Linked DNA regions of Homo sapiens: region 1 is linked to region 2. The links are contacts of gene promoters, found by promoter capture Hi-C in blood cells and fetal thymus (Javierre and others, 2016). All regions are on one chromosome and are shown on one strand. Each heading gives the region's core, a stretch centred on a gene start or on the middle of the fragment in contact. The rest is flanking DNA. Distances are from core to core; before and after follow the strand shown. Region 1 overlaps ATP6V0A1 (ATPase H+ transporting V0 subunit a1). Region 2 holds the start of CAVIN1 (caveolae associated protein 1).

Evidence for each region. Contacts are between HindIII fragments. The CHiCAGO score rates a contact against its expected background, and 5 or more counts as called.
Region 1: a fragment that was not itself captured here is called in contact with the fragment with the promoter of CAVIN1 in region 2 in 4 of 17 cell types (megakaryocytes, M2 macrophages, endothelial precursors and 1 more); the score reaches 11.5 in megakaryocytes.

What each region holds. Positions count from the first base shown.
Region 1 is chr17:42,467,842-42,474,077 of GRCh38, forward strand. It overlaps ATP6V0A1 (ATPase H+ transporting V0 subunit a1), which reads left to right. Exons shown (of 22, transcript NM_001130021.3): 4 at 169-266; 5 at 2,249-2,377. Among named protein-coding and RNA genes, the nearest start is that of ATP6V0A1, 12 kb to the left of the region's middle. The HindIII fragment of the contact is 5,529 bases long and covers 1-4,189 here.
Region 2 is chr17:42,419,038-42,425,313 of GRCh38, forward strand. It overlaps CAVIN1 (caveolae associated protein 1), which reads right to left and starts at 4,219. Exons shown (of 2, transcript NM_012232.6): 1 at 3,590-4,219. The coding sequence starts at 4,060. LOC102725238 (a long non-coding RNA gene) reads left to right here and starts at 4,151. Exons shown (of 4, transcript XR_007065758.1): 1 at 4,151-4,235; 2 at 5,854-6,025. The HindIII fragment of the contact is 2,664 bases long and covers 2,045-4,708 here.

The sequences.
Region 1 (6,236 bases), core at 175-2,674, 46 kb after region 2:
TGCTTCTTTCATATTAAAAGATATTATATCTTTTATATATATATATAAAGTATCTTTTTTGAATAAAACTTTTTGTAACCAGGTCTTAGATGTTAATTCTTTTCCTTAAATAATGGCAATTACGAGCATGTGCAGTTAGACATGAATGTTTTGATTCTGTCATTTTAGGATTTGTTGAGAAAGAGATAAGAAAAGCTAACATTCCGATTATGGACACCGGTGAAAACCCAGAGGTTCCCTTCCCCCGGGACATGATTGACTTAGAGGTAAACACTTCTGGGAAAACCAGAAAAGTTTCTTTCTACTTGAACGCAGAAATTACTTTCCTGAGCAGATAGAGAGTAAAGTAATTCTTGCTAACTTTGTCAGCATTATCTACTGATTGTAAGTTTCTTGTAGGTGGGATTTTGATAGATAATATTTGTACACATTTATGGTGTACATGTGATATTTTGGTATATACATAGAATGTGTATATACCAAGTCAGGGTATTTGGAGTATCCATCACCTTGAGTATTTACCATTTCTATGTGTTGGGAACATTTCAATTCTTCTCTTCTAGCTATTTTGAAATATATACAGTACATTGCTGTTAACTATAGGCACCCTACTCTGCTATTGAGCATTAGAACTTATGCCTTCTATCTAACTGTATGTTTGTCCACATTAACCAACCTCTCTTCATCCCCCCACAAACCCACACACCCTTCATAGCCTCTGGTATCTATCATTCCACTCCCTACCTCTATGAGATCAACTTTTTTAGCTCCCACATATGAGTGAAAACTTGTATTATTTGTCTGTGCCCTGCTTATTTCGCTTAACATAATGACCTCCAGTTCTATCCATGTTGCTGCAAATGACATGATTTTATTCTTTTTTTATGGCCAGACCATATGAATCCCCTCTTTTATGGTGACAAACAGCACTCAAACAGTATTATATGCCACTAAGTAAATGTTTATTGGTTTATCGAAACCTTATTGGAGTAAGTTATCTACTATTTTATTTTATTTTATTTTATTTTTGAGACATAGCTATCACCTAGGCTGGACTACAGTGACCCCATCTTGGCTCACTGCAACCCCTGCCTCCCAGGCTCAAGCAGTTCTAGTACCTCAGCCTCCAGAGTAGCTGAGACGATAGCTGTGTGCCAACATGCCTGGCTAATTTTTTTGTATTTTTTGTAGAGATGGGATTTTCCCATGTTGGCCAGCTTGATCTCGAACTCCTAACCTCAAGCAATCTGCCTGCCTCAGCCTCCCAAAGTACTGGGATTACAGGTGTGAGCTACCACACCTGGCCTATCTACTAGTTGGTTAATCTTGCAATCTTGCAGACTAAATGGGCAGCCAGTAGACTTCTCAGTAATTATTTTATCCATCTGAAATCGCCTGAGAAAGTTACCAAGTATACAATAGAATGTGTAAACAAAGAAAGACTATTTTTTTGACTTCTACAATGACTTAGAAAGGAAAGACTTTTTTTTTTTTTTTTTTTTTTTTCCAGACAGAGTCTTGCTCTCTCACCCAGCCTGGAGTGCAGTGGTGCGATCTTGGCTCACTGCAACCTCCGCCTCCCGGGTTCAAGCCATTCTCCTGCCTCAGCCTCCCAGGTAGCTGGGATTACAGGCATGCACCACTGCACCCAGCTAATTTTTTTTTGTATTTTTAGTAGAGACGGGGTTTCGCCATGTTTGGCCAGGCTGGTCTTGAACTCCTGACCTCAGATGAGCCACCCACCTCAGACTCCCTAAGTGCTGGGATTACAGGAGTGAGTCACCATGCCCGGCCAGGAAAGACTATTTATTTATTTATGAGATGGAGTTTTGCTCTTGTTGCCCAGGCTGAAGTACAGTGGTGTGATCTTGGCTTACTGCAACCTCCACCTCCCGGGTTCAAGTGATTCTCCTGCTTCAGCCTCCCAAGTAGCTGGGACTACAGTCATGCGCCAGCACGCCCAGCTAATTTTGTATTTTTAGTAGAGACGTGGTTTCACCATTTTGGTCAGGCTGGTCTCGAACTCCTGACCTCAAGTGATCCACCCGCCTCGGCCCAGGAGAGATTATTTTAAGCAAAAAAATTTCCATAAAGAAAATTGCTCTAGTAAAATCACAGTATTTGCTAGGCAAGTCCAAGTTCTCTTTGAACTATCGGCTTGGCAACAGTTCTGTGGGATGAATTCATTTAATGTCTTTCAGAGCAAACATATTGAGCTTAGCTTAATATATTTTCTTATTTCATCTAGGCCAATTTTGAGAAGATTGAAAATGAACTGAAGGAAATCAACACAAACCAGGAAGCTCTGAAGAGAAACTTCCTGGAACTGACCGAATTAAAATTTATACTTCGCAAAACTCAGCAATTTTTTGATGAGGTCAGACTATTGTTTCTTTTAGTATTTGAGCAGCTGATATTATACTCACACAAGTGGGCCATATTTTTATTCCAGTAATTATTTTAATTTGCTAGTTTGGAAGCAATGCCATTTTTGCACCCTGTTTTAGTTACAGAAATGTGAGATTATGTTCCATTTTTCATGCAGTACACAACCAGCCATGGTTTTGCATTTTTTCACATTTTCTTCAATTTTTCATCTCAATATGAGGAAAAGAACCCTGAAGTAGTTGTATAAACATAGTTAGTATAAATTTTTACATTATATTTATACTTATAAGGTAAGTATATGCTTAAGGTTAAAGCTGAGGAAGCAAACATTTGGTTATAGACAAAATTATAACAAAGGTTTAATCACCAAACCTTTTGTCATCAAATTTTTATTTCATTGTCTATGTTTGCTTATAAACCTTCGAGCACATTTTTCAGTACTTCAGATAGCACACATCACACTAATTTTTCAAGAGTTTTTCATTGTATTTATTGTATGGAAAATATTGGTAGGATGCTTGTTTGAAACTTCTGGATTATCACATAAACTTAGACGCATTACCTCAGAGGGAAAAATGTTAGTAAAGTTCTTGGGTTAAATATGTAGGTGAGGCCAGGCATGGTGGCTCATGCGTGTAGTCCCTGCACTTTGGGAGGCCGAGGCAGGTGGATCACCTGAGGTCAGGAGTTCGAGATCAGCCTGGCCAACATGGTGAAACCCGGTCTCTACTAAAAATACAAAAACTAGCCGGGTGAGGTGGTGGTTGCCTGTAATCCCAGCTACTCGAGAGGCTGAGGCAGGAAAATCATTTGAACCTGGGAGGTGGACGTTGCATTGAGCTGAGATTGCTCCACTGCACTCCAGCCTGGGCGACAGAGTGAGACTCTATCTCAAAAAAAAAAAATGTAGGCTGGGCGCGGTGGCTCATGCCTGTAATCCCAGCACTTTGGGAGTCCGAGGTGGGCGGATCACGAGGTCAGGAGATCAAGACCATCTTGGCTAACACGGTGAAACCCCGTCTCTGCTAAAAAAATACAAAAAATTAGCCGGGCATGGTGGTGGGCACCTGTAGTCCCAGCTAATCAGGAGGCTGAGGCAGGAGAATGGCGTGAACCCGGGAGGCGGAGCTTATAGTGAGCCGAGATCGCGCCACTGCACTCCAGCCTGGGCGACAGAGCAAGACTCTGTCTCAAAAAAAAAAAAAAAAAATGTAGGTGACTTGGTTGGGCATGGTGGCTCACACCTGTAATCCCAGTACTTTGGGAGGGTGAAGTGGGCAGATCACTTGAGCCCAGGAGTTCAGGATCAGCCTGGGCAACATGGTGAAACCCCGTCTCCACAAAAAATACAAAAATTAGACAGGCATCGTGGTGCACACCTGTAGTTCCAGCTACTCGGGAGGCTGAAGTGAGGGGATTGCTTGAGCCCAGGAGGCAGAGGTTGCAGTGAGCGGAGATTAAGCCACTTTACTCCAGCCTGGGGGACAGAGCAAGACTGTCTCAAAAAAAAAATGTAGGTGACTTAGTCCAGGTGACAATGTGCTGAGGTGACTCCATGGAAAGGATCTGGAGCAAGGCTTCCAGAATGCTCCCTTCTCCTAACTCAGTCTGGGGAGGAGTCTTAGCTTTCAACTTGGATGTGGTTTTTCTGATGGCCTAAAGTACAGTAACTGTCTTCTTGACAGGTGTCTTTGCCACCAGATTGACAATATTAGACACTTTAGGGATTGTTACAGTCACTGTTCAATGTGCCTTCCCATAAAGTTCTTTCATTCCTTTGCTCAACAAGAAAACTTGGCAAAGCTTTTAAATATAGAGGCCCTTTTTTTTTTTTTTTTTCCCGAGACAAAGTCTCACTGTGTTGCCCAGGCTGGAGTGCAGTGGAGTAATCTTAGCTCACTGCAACCTCCACCTCCCAAGCTCAAGCAATTCTCCTGCCTCAGCCTCCCGAGTAGCTGGGATTACAGGTGCTCACCACCACCCCCAGCTAATTTTTGTATTTTCAGTAGAGACAGCGTTTCACCATGTTGGCCAGGCTGGTCTCGAACCTCTAGCCTCAAGTGATCCATCCACCTCTGTCTCCCAAAGTGCTGGGATTACAGGTGTGAGCCACTGTGCCTGGTAGAGTCCCATTTTAGTTAGCATCTGCTGTGTTCTCAGTTGTACTTTAAATTTATATATATAGTTTTTATTTTTATTTTTTATTGTTTTTAGGCCGGGCGCGGTGGCTAACGCCTATAATCCCAGCACTTTGGGAGGCCGAGGCAGGGGGATCACGAGGTCAGGAGTTCAAGACCAGCCTGACCAACATGGTGAAACCCCGTCTTCTACTAAAAATACAAAAATTAGCCAGGCATGGTGGCGGGCGCCTATAATCCCAGCTATTCATGAGGCTGAGGCAGGAGAATCGCTTGAACCGGGGAGGCGGAGGTTGTAGTGAGCTGAGATCGCACCACTGCACTCTAGCCTGGGCGAAAGAGCGAGACTCCATCTCAAAAAAAAAAATTGTTTTTAACTGCCTCATCTCAGAAATTTTTCTCTTTTGAGGGGAGATCAAATATCCAGAATTCTCTAGACTGGAGCAGGGGTTTTTCAAACAACAGCAGCAGACTCACCTGTAATCTTGTCAGAAGTATGAATTATCAGTCTCCACCCTAGACTTACTGAATCAGACACTGTGGGAGTTAGGCCTAGCAGTCTGTATTTACTAGGTGATCCGGAGGCATGCTAGTTTGAAAACTGCTGGGCTAGAGAAGGTCTGCTGAGGATGTGATACATTCCTCACTAATTTAAGGATTTGACTCAGAAGCCATTTAATTAAAAGGATCTGCTGGGTCAAGGGAAAGGGGAAAAACTCATATGAATTTAATTGCCTGGTCCTTTCAAGAGTCAGAAGGTACAAATATTTATTTAGTTTGCTCACAGAGTCGAGAATTTTGAGACTAGTGGTAACTTCTTTCGCCAGTCCCTAATGACATCACGTTAGAGGGTGTGGGACAGTGTGATTAACTCTAAGTGTTTAAGGTCTTTTGCAATAGGCATCGCCACTTAAGCTGTATGTTTTTAATGAACCTGGAATTCCAGCATGCTCACTGCCCAGACGTTATTGTATTTTTGTTCACTAATTCACTGAGCATATAATGAGCACCTACTTATTGTGAGACACAAGATGAGTAAGACATGGTCCCTGTGTTTAAGGAATGTATCATTCAGTCTTAAGAAATACCCCAGAACATGACGCTTTCATATGCTCACAGATGTGTGCTTTTCTAAACATATCCAAGCTGCTACCCACAGATCTGATGTAAACCTGGCCTTGTAGTCAGAGCTCAGCTACCTTTTAGCATTATTTGGAGCTTAATTCTTTTACCTTCCCTGTCCCCATTTTTTTCCCTTTTGATATACTGTTTAGTTTACTGCTGAGATATTGCTATCTCATATGAAAATGTCTTTCAAGACCTCGTAAGTTTAAGAATGAGAGCCAGCTTCCTATTATGGTTCATTTTTGGAGAAATTCCGAATAAAGACTGATAGATGGATTCCCTTAAGGGAAATAATTATTTAAACTATTAATTTTCTAATGAAAAGAACTTAGTAAAAATGAAAATAAGAGGAACCACTTGGAAAAATGATATTTTAAAATCATAATTTATGGATTTAGGACTTTTATTTTGTGAATAATAAGTCTAAACACTAAATGCCTGTTTTGAGAAGGCAGACTCTAAGTCTTCATGATCTTTGTGCCCTTTTCATGCTGGGGTTGTTTTCCCTCTCCTATTTTTTTTTTTTTTGAGACAGAGTCTCGCTTTGTCATCCAGGCTGGAGTGCAGTGGTGCGATCTTGGCTCA
Region 2 (6,276 bases), core at 2,969-5,468:
AAAAAAACAATTTGCCGGGCACGGTGGTGGGCACCTGTAGTCCTAGCTACTCGGGAGGCTGAACCAGGAGGATCACTTGAGCCCAAGAGTTCGAGACTGCAGTAAGATATGACTGTGTCACTGCACTCCAGCTTGAGCAACAGAGTGAGAACTTGTCTGAAAAACAAAACCAAAAAACCCCAAAAAACAAATTGTTGCCTGGAAGAATTGGTTCTTTAATGATCATAGTTCCACTCATCTGCATGGCATTTTATTTTATTTATTGTTGTTATTATTATTATTATTATTATTTTTGAGATGGAGTCTCACTCTGTCGCCCAGGCTGGAGTGCAATAACACGATCTCGCTCACTGCAACCTCCGCCTCCCAGGTTCAAGCCATTCTTCTGCCTCAGCCTCCCGAGTAACCAGGATTAGAGGTGCTCACCACCATGCCCGGCTAATTTTTGTATTTTAGTAGAGAGGGGTTTCACCATGTTGGCCAGGCTGGTCTCGAACTACTGACCTCAAGTGATCCACCTGCCTCAGCCTCCTAAAGTGCTGGGATTACAGGCACGAGCCACCTAGCCCGGCCTCTGCATGGTATTTTAGAGCAACTGCCTCTATATTCACAATCTGGCCTGATCGTCCTGCAACCCTCAGTCCATTAACTCCTATAACTAGTAGAATTCACTTCTCTCATTTACTAGCTGTTGCTAGCCAAGTGTCGCCTGATAGAATGCAATGTCAAACTGCTAGGTTTTGTTTGGGAGACAGGGAAGGAAATGCCAGAGAAGGGCAGTAATGACTCAGAAGTGAGTTTAAGATGAGGGCTGTGATACCTTGGGGTGGGAGGTGCTGAATTTCGTGTGTGTGTGTGTGTGTGTGTGTGTGTGTGTGTGTTCAAATGCAAACTTAAAGCTGTGAAATCATTAAGTCTAGAAGTTCCCTGAATTTGGGGTGGGGCCATACAAGGGATTCCCTCCTTTTCTCCCCAGGAATAGGGTATGGAAGGCCAGATGTCTCCATCCCACAACGGGGGCCTTCCCATCCCTTGGTGTTCTCTGCCCCGCCCCCACTGCCACATCATCACCTCCCACCCCTGTAGTGGGGAATACAGCATCCCTTCCCCTATGGCCCCTCCAGAGAATTCACACCATCCCAGGAAACTTTCTCCAAATCTCTGTCTCTTTGCCTGGCCACCCAACATCCTCCCCCTTCAGCCGGACTTTACCATAAATGCTGCTGCCCCCAATCTTCCCTAATAGGCCTGCCAAGGCACAGAGCTATTTTTACCTCCTTCCCTTCTCAGGCCTGCAGACCTCTGGGAGGAGCAGGAGCAGCCTCTGCTTTCCTCCAGCAGCCGGGTCCCCACCTGGAACATCTGCTCTGCAGCTCAGGGAAGTTCTGCTTTCCCAAGCCTCACCCCATTTGCTGGAATCTTTTCCTTACGTCTGAAGTCTTCCCCAGGTTGGGACCATTTCAGTTCTTAGTTATTCCCTCTGTGGGTTTGGGACTCCATTTGAGCTACTCTTACTACCTCAACTCTCTGTCACCCACTGGCCTTGGTTTAGTGCAGATTCATTTGAAGCCACCTGTGATTAGAACACATTCCCTCCCACCCCCTAAAATATAGACATATCCCTGCAGATTGCTGGAGAGGGCAGAACAGAGGGATGCCAGTGGCCTCTGCAGATAAGTCTTTCTCCCTCCATACCTTTCCCTCTTCTCTCAGAATCTCCATCTTTGGCATAGGGAAGTTTACCTCCAGGCCAAGACTTTTCCCAGGTTCTATGGTCTGGGATAGTTAGCGTGAGAAGGGTCACCCCTCGAGCTCTTCATGGTGGCTCTCGGCCACACCAGGCTCTGGAGGAAATATAGAGCTGGCTTGCTGTCCCAGACCCCTGTCTTGTTCCGCTCCTCTCAATGTCCCCAGTACTAAGCAGGTCTCTTAAAAAACGTCAAAAGCCCCCCTCTCATCCTGCGTCCTCCAAGCAGTTAGACTAAGTGGAAATAGCTCTGGGCAAACATTTTCTATCTAAATAGTGCTTAAGTAGGGGAAGTAAAGCTTTTAAAAGCCACGTATATGCCTCCTGGGAGGAGTCTGTCATCCGTGGGTAAGGGTGGGGAGGGGGACAAGTGCCACTTCTGCCTCTGTCCCACCACCTCAGATAGGTACCAGCTGACCCACCTTTCTGTCTCTACTCTTCCCAGATACTTGTCCTGATTTGCATCTATCTTAACTCCTCCTGGGGAAACCAAGCCAAGGACCCCCTCGCCTCACCCCAGATGGTCACTCAGAACCCGGCTCGACCAGGCCCCAGAGCAGTCAGCAGAGCCACAACTCCCGGAAAGGGGTCTTCTAACTTGGAGGGTGTGGGAAATCCAGCCTTCCCTTTCTTTCCATTCCCTTCAGCAGGGAGAGGAAGGGGAGAGGGGAGCATAGACTAACCCCCCTGCCCCACACGATCCCGCCTCCCTGGGGTTAGGAGCATCAGCAGGCCTTTGGGAGGCGGGGAGGAGCCAGGCTGGAACACTTGCCGCCCAGCCCAAAATCTCATCCCCGATGGCACTGCGGAAGCGGCGTGGAGAGGAGCAGCATAGAAACCCGAGACTCCCAGGTTTATTGGGGGTTATGATCCAAAAGCTACATTTTTATCCAAGTGTGAAGAATGGGGAGAGCTGCAAAGAAAGCAACAAGTGGCCCCGGGCGGAGCCGGGGGGTGGGGGCGCCAGCCTCCTCCCGCCGGCTGCGCTGCTGCGCCTGGCCCCCGCCCCCGCAGGCATGCGGGGTGATTCACCTCGCCCAGACTGCGCCCAGACCGCCGGACCCCGCAGGGGCTGTCCACCCACTCCACCAGCCCCTCTTGCACTCCTGACGCCCACTCTTCCCCGCCCAGCCCCGCCCGCTTCCAGGAGGCCCAGGGTGCCAGCGCGCCGCGGGTGAGGGTGTCCTCAAGGGCCTGAAAATGCCTGGTGGCCAGGAGCAGAGAGCAGCGAGGGGACAGGGGTGGGCCGCCGAGGCCGATGTGGGGGCGCGGGGGCGCAGGGTCTGGGGAGGAGGTTGGCGGTCGCGTTCCCCGCTTGGCACAGCCCCCGCTGGTGCGTGCCTGAGCCCTGAATCACCCGCTATATCAGGCCCGCAGGCGCAGAGGCCCCAGGCCCGGGCCCCGCAGCCAGTGTCCGCTTACAGCGGACCCCAACGATCGCGAGGGACCCCTGACTTTCCTAGAAACTTCCCCCAAGTAGGAAGAAGTTTGACAGAGCCAATTAGGGAGGGAGCGGTCTGCGAGGGGCAGCGTCCTCGAGTCCACCCGCTAATTCGGTTCTGCTACAAGTTTGGGACCCGAGGGAAGGATCTGAGTGGGGAGGTGCGAGGTGCAGAGCGCGCCCCTCTACGCGCCCCAGGAGTCCGCCGCTCCCTCCACCCCATCCTACCCCACCCAACCCCACCCCAGCCGCGCTCACCGGAAGGAGGGTGGATCTGCCGGGCGCCCGGGCCAGGCTGGGAGGGGAGCAGCGCCACGGGCAGGTCTCCCCACCCCAACTCCCAGGCAGGGGACGCGGGCCGGGCGCGGGAGCTCTGGGCGCCTTCCGCCCTGTGGGCTCACCTGGTAGATCATGACTTTAAAGTTGCGGCGCCGCAGCAGCTCGGCCTCGTTGACCTCCAGCTTCTTGATCTGCCCCGCCTGGCGCTCCAGGCTGCCGCGCACGGTCTTCACGTTGACGCTGACCTTGCGCACCTTCTCCAGCAGCTTGCTCACCGTATTGCTCGTGGTGGCGTGCGCCTTGCCCAGCTTGCTCAGCTCGCCCTGGATGCTCTGCACTGCGCCCTCCATCTCCGCCTGCCGCTCCTCCAGCTGTGCTTGAGTCAGCTGGATCTGGTCTACGGCCCCGATGATTTTGTCCAGGAGGCTCAGCACCAGCACGCCGTTCACCTGGTCCGACTTGATCAGCTCTTCTGAGCCGGCCCCCGACGGCTCCTCCGCTGCCTGAGCCCCAGCGGAGGAAGGCTCCGGGGCCTCGGCGTCGGGGTACCCGGGAAGCGGCCGCTCGACAATATAGAGCGTGGGGTCCTCCATGGCTACCCGGAGCCGTGCGGGACCGGCCGGGTGGGGCTGGAGCTGGAGCGGGAGACCCGGAGAGAAGCAGGAGCGGAAGGGAGGAGAGCTAGCGGGCGAGAGCGGAGAGCAGAGGAAACTCGAGCCACGTCCGTGCGCACCGGGACAGCGGCCAGAACTGCTGGGCGGGGGATCGGTGAGCTCCCCAGCTCCCGGGCCAAACTCCGGAGTCTGATCGCTGATTGGCTGGCCCCACCCCAGAAAGGGAGGGACCGGGGCAGAAGGGGAGATCGACGAGGCGGGGCGGCGGAGGGGGACCCAAGAGCCGAGCGCCCCACCCTTCCCGGGATGGTTGGAATAGTTGGAGCGGGAGACTAGGGCCTCCGCTGGCGGCGGGAGCGGGACGGGCGGAGGAATGCGAGCTGAGGAACGGAATCAGGTTCTAAGAGTGTTGCTCTCTGTTTCCCTCTCACTTGAATTGCTCATCCGAAAATCCTCAAGATCTGGGAGCCGGGTGGACCAGGAGATTCTGAAATTATAGGCAAAATCTTGTATTTGCCTTTACCTAGATTTTGAGCACAAAAGGACCCTTGCCCTTTACAATATTTTCTAAGAGGCCTCTCGGATTTCCTCATCACCAACCCCAACCAGGTTACTAACTCAGGGGTAAGCTTAGGGGGTTGTTTGTGGGGGGCGGGGGGAGAAAGAGAGAACGTATTTGGGGTCACGGTGGTGGTGAAGGGCTGCGAAGCTCCTCTAAGTTCTTTTTAGAATTGCCCTAACAGAGTAGAATTAAGATGGGCAATCAAACGGAAAATAAAGCCCACCTCCCAACCCCCCTTTCTGAGACAGGGTGTCACTCTGTCACCCAGGCTGGAGTGCAGCGGTCTGATCACAGTTCACTGCAGCCTCGACCTCTTGGGCTCAGGCAATCCTCCCACTTCAGCCTCCTGAGTAGATGAGACTATAGGCGCTTGCCACCACGCCCAGCTAATTTCAATTTTTATTTTTTTCAATTTTTATTTTTTTAAGAGACGGGGTGTACACTATTTTGACCAGGCTGGTCTCGAACTCCTGAGCTCAAGTGATCTGCTGGTTTCAGCCTCTCAAAGTGCTGGGAGCCACCGCGCCTGGTGTAAAGCCCTTTTTAAAAGCCCACCTCTCTTAGGCCAGGCGCGGTGGCTCATGCCTGTAATCCCAGCACTTTGGGAGGCCCAGGCGGGTGGATCACGAGGTCAGGAGTTCAAGACCAGCCTGGCCCAAGATGGTGAAACCCCGTCTCTGTTACAAATACAAAAATTAGGCCAGGCGCAGTGGCTCATTTTGGGAGGCGGAGGTGGGTGGATCACCTGAGGTCGGGAGTTCGACCTCAGCCTGACCAACATGGAGAAACCCCATCTCTACTAAAAATACAAAATTAGCCAGGCGTGGTGGCGCATGCCTGTAATCCCAGCTATTCGGGAGGCTGAGGCAGGAGAATCACTTGAACCCGGGGGGCAGAGGTTGCAATGAGCTGAGATTCGCGCCATTGCACTCCAGCCTGAGTGGAATTCTACAGAGTAGAATTCCTCTTTTTTCCAAAAGCTTTTTCAATCCTTAGTAGAAGGAATTTAAATTACTTTAATACATTTCTCCTAAATTCTAAAGTAAGTTGGTAATCTGCCAGTTGGTAATCCACTGTCTGAGTGCAGACAGAGTGAGACTCTGTCTCAAAAAAACAAAAAAAACAAAAACAAAAGCAACCCACAAACCCACGTCTCACCTCTCTCTAAAACTCACCTTTCCCTGTGTTCCCCCTCCCACCGCCCCCTCAGAGGCAGCTGACACCAATCTCAGTGAGCAGGATCTAGGAGTCCATTTCTCTTTCAAGATTCCAGGGACTAACAGTAAGCCATCGGAGAGACCATCAAATCCCACCCCCTCATTTGACAGACAGGAAAAGGAAAGCCTGCAGAAGACAGGTGGCTTGCCAGAGATCACTCGCAGGTTAGTGTTGGCATTGGCACTTGAACCCAGGTCTGGACTCCTGCTTTCATGCTCTTTCCACCTTCTGCTCTAAGCCTTCCACTGGGGCAGGGAGACAGGCACCCACAGCCACTCCCCAACTCCCATGTGCTGTTTCAGAAGATTAACCAAAGCATATTTTCATCCATGCTGGGTACAAGGGAGCAGGCAATTCTGAGCAGGCCCAAGGAGGGTCCTTAGTGCAGAAAGTCCAGAAATAGGGAGGCTGCCCA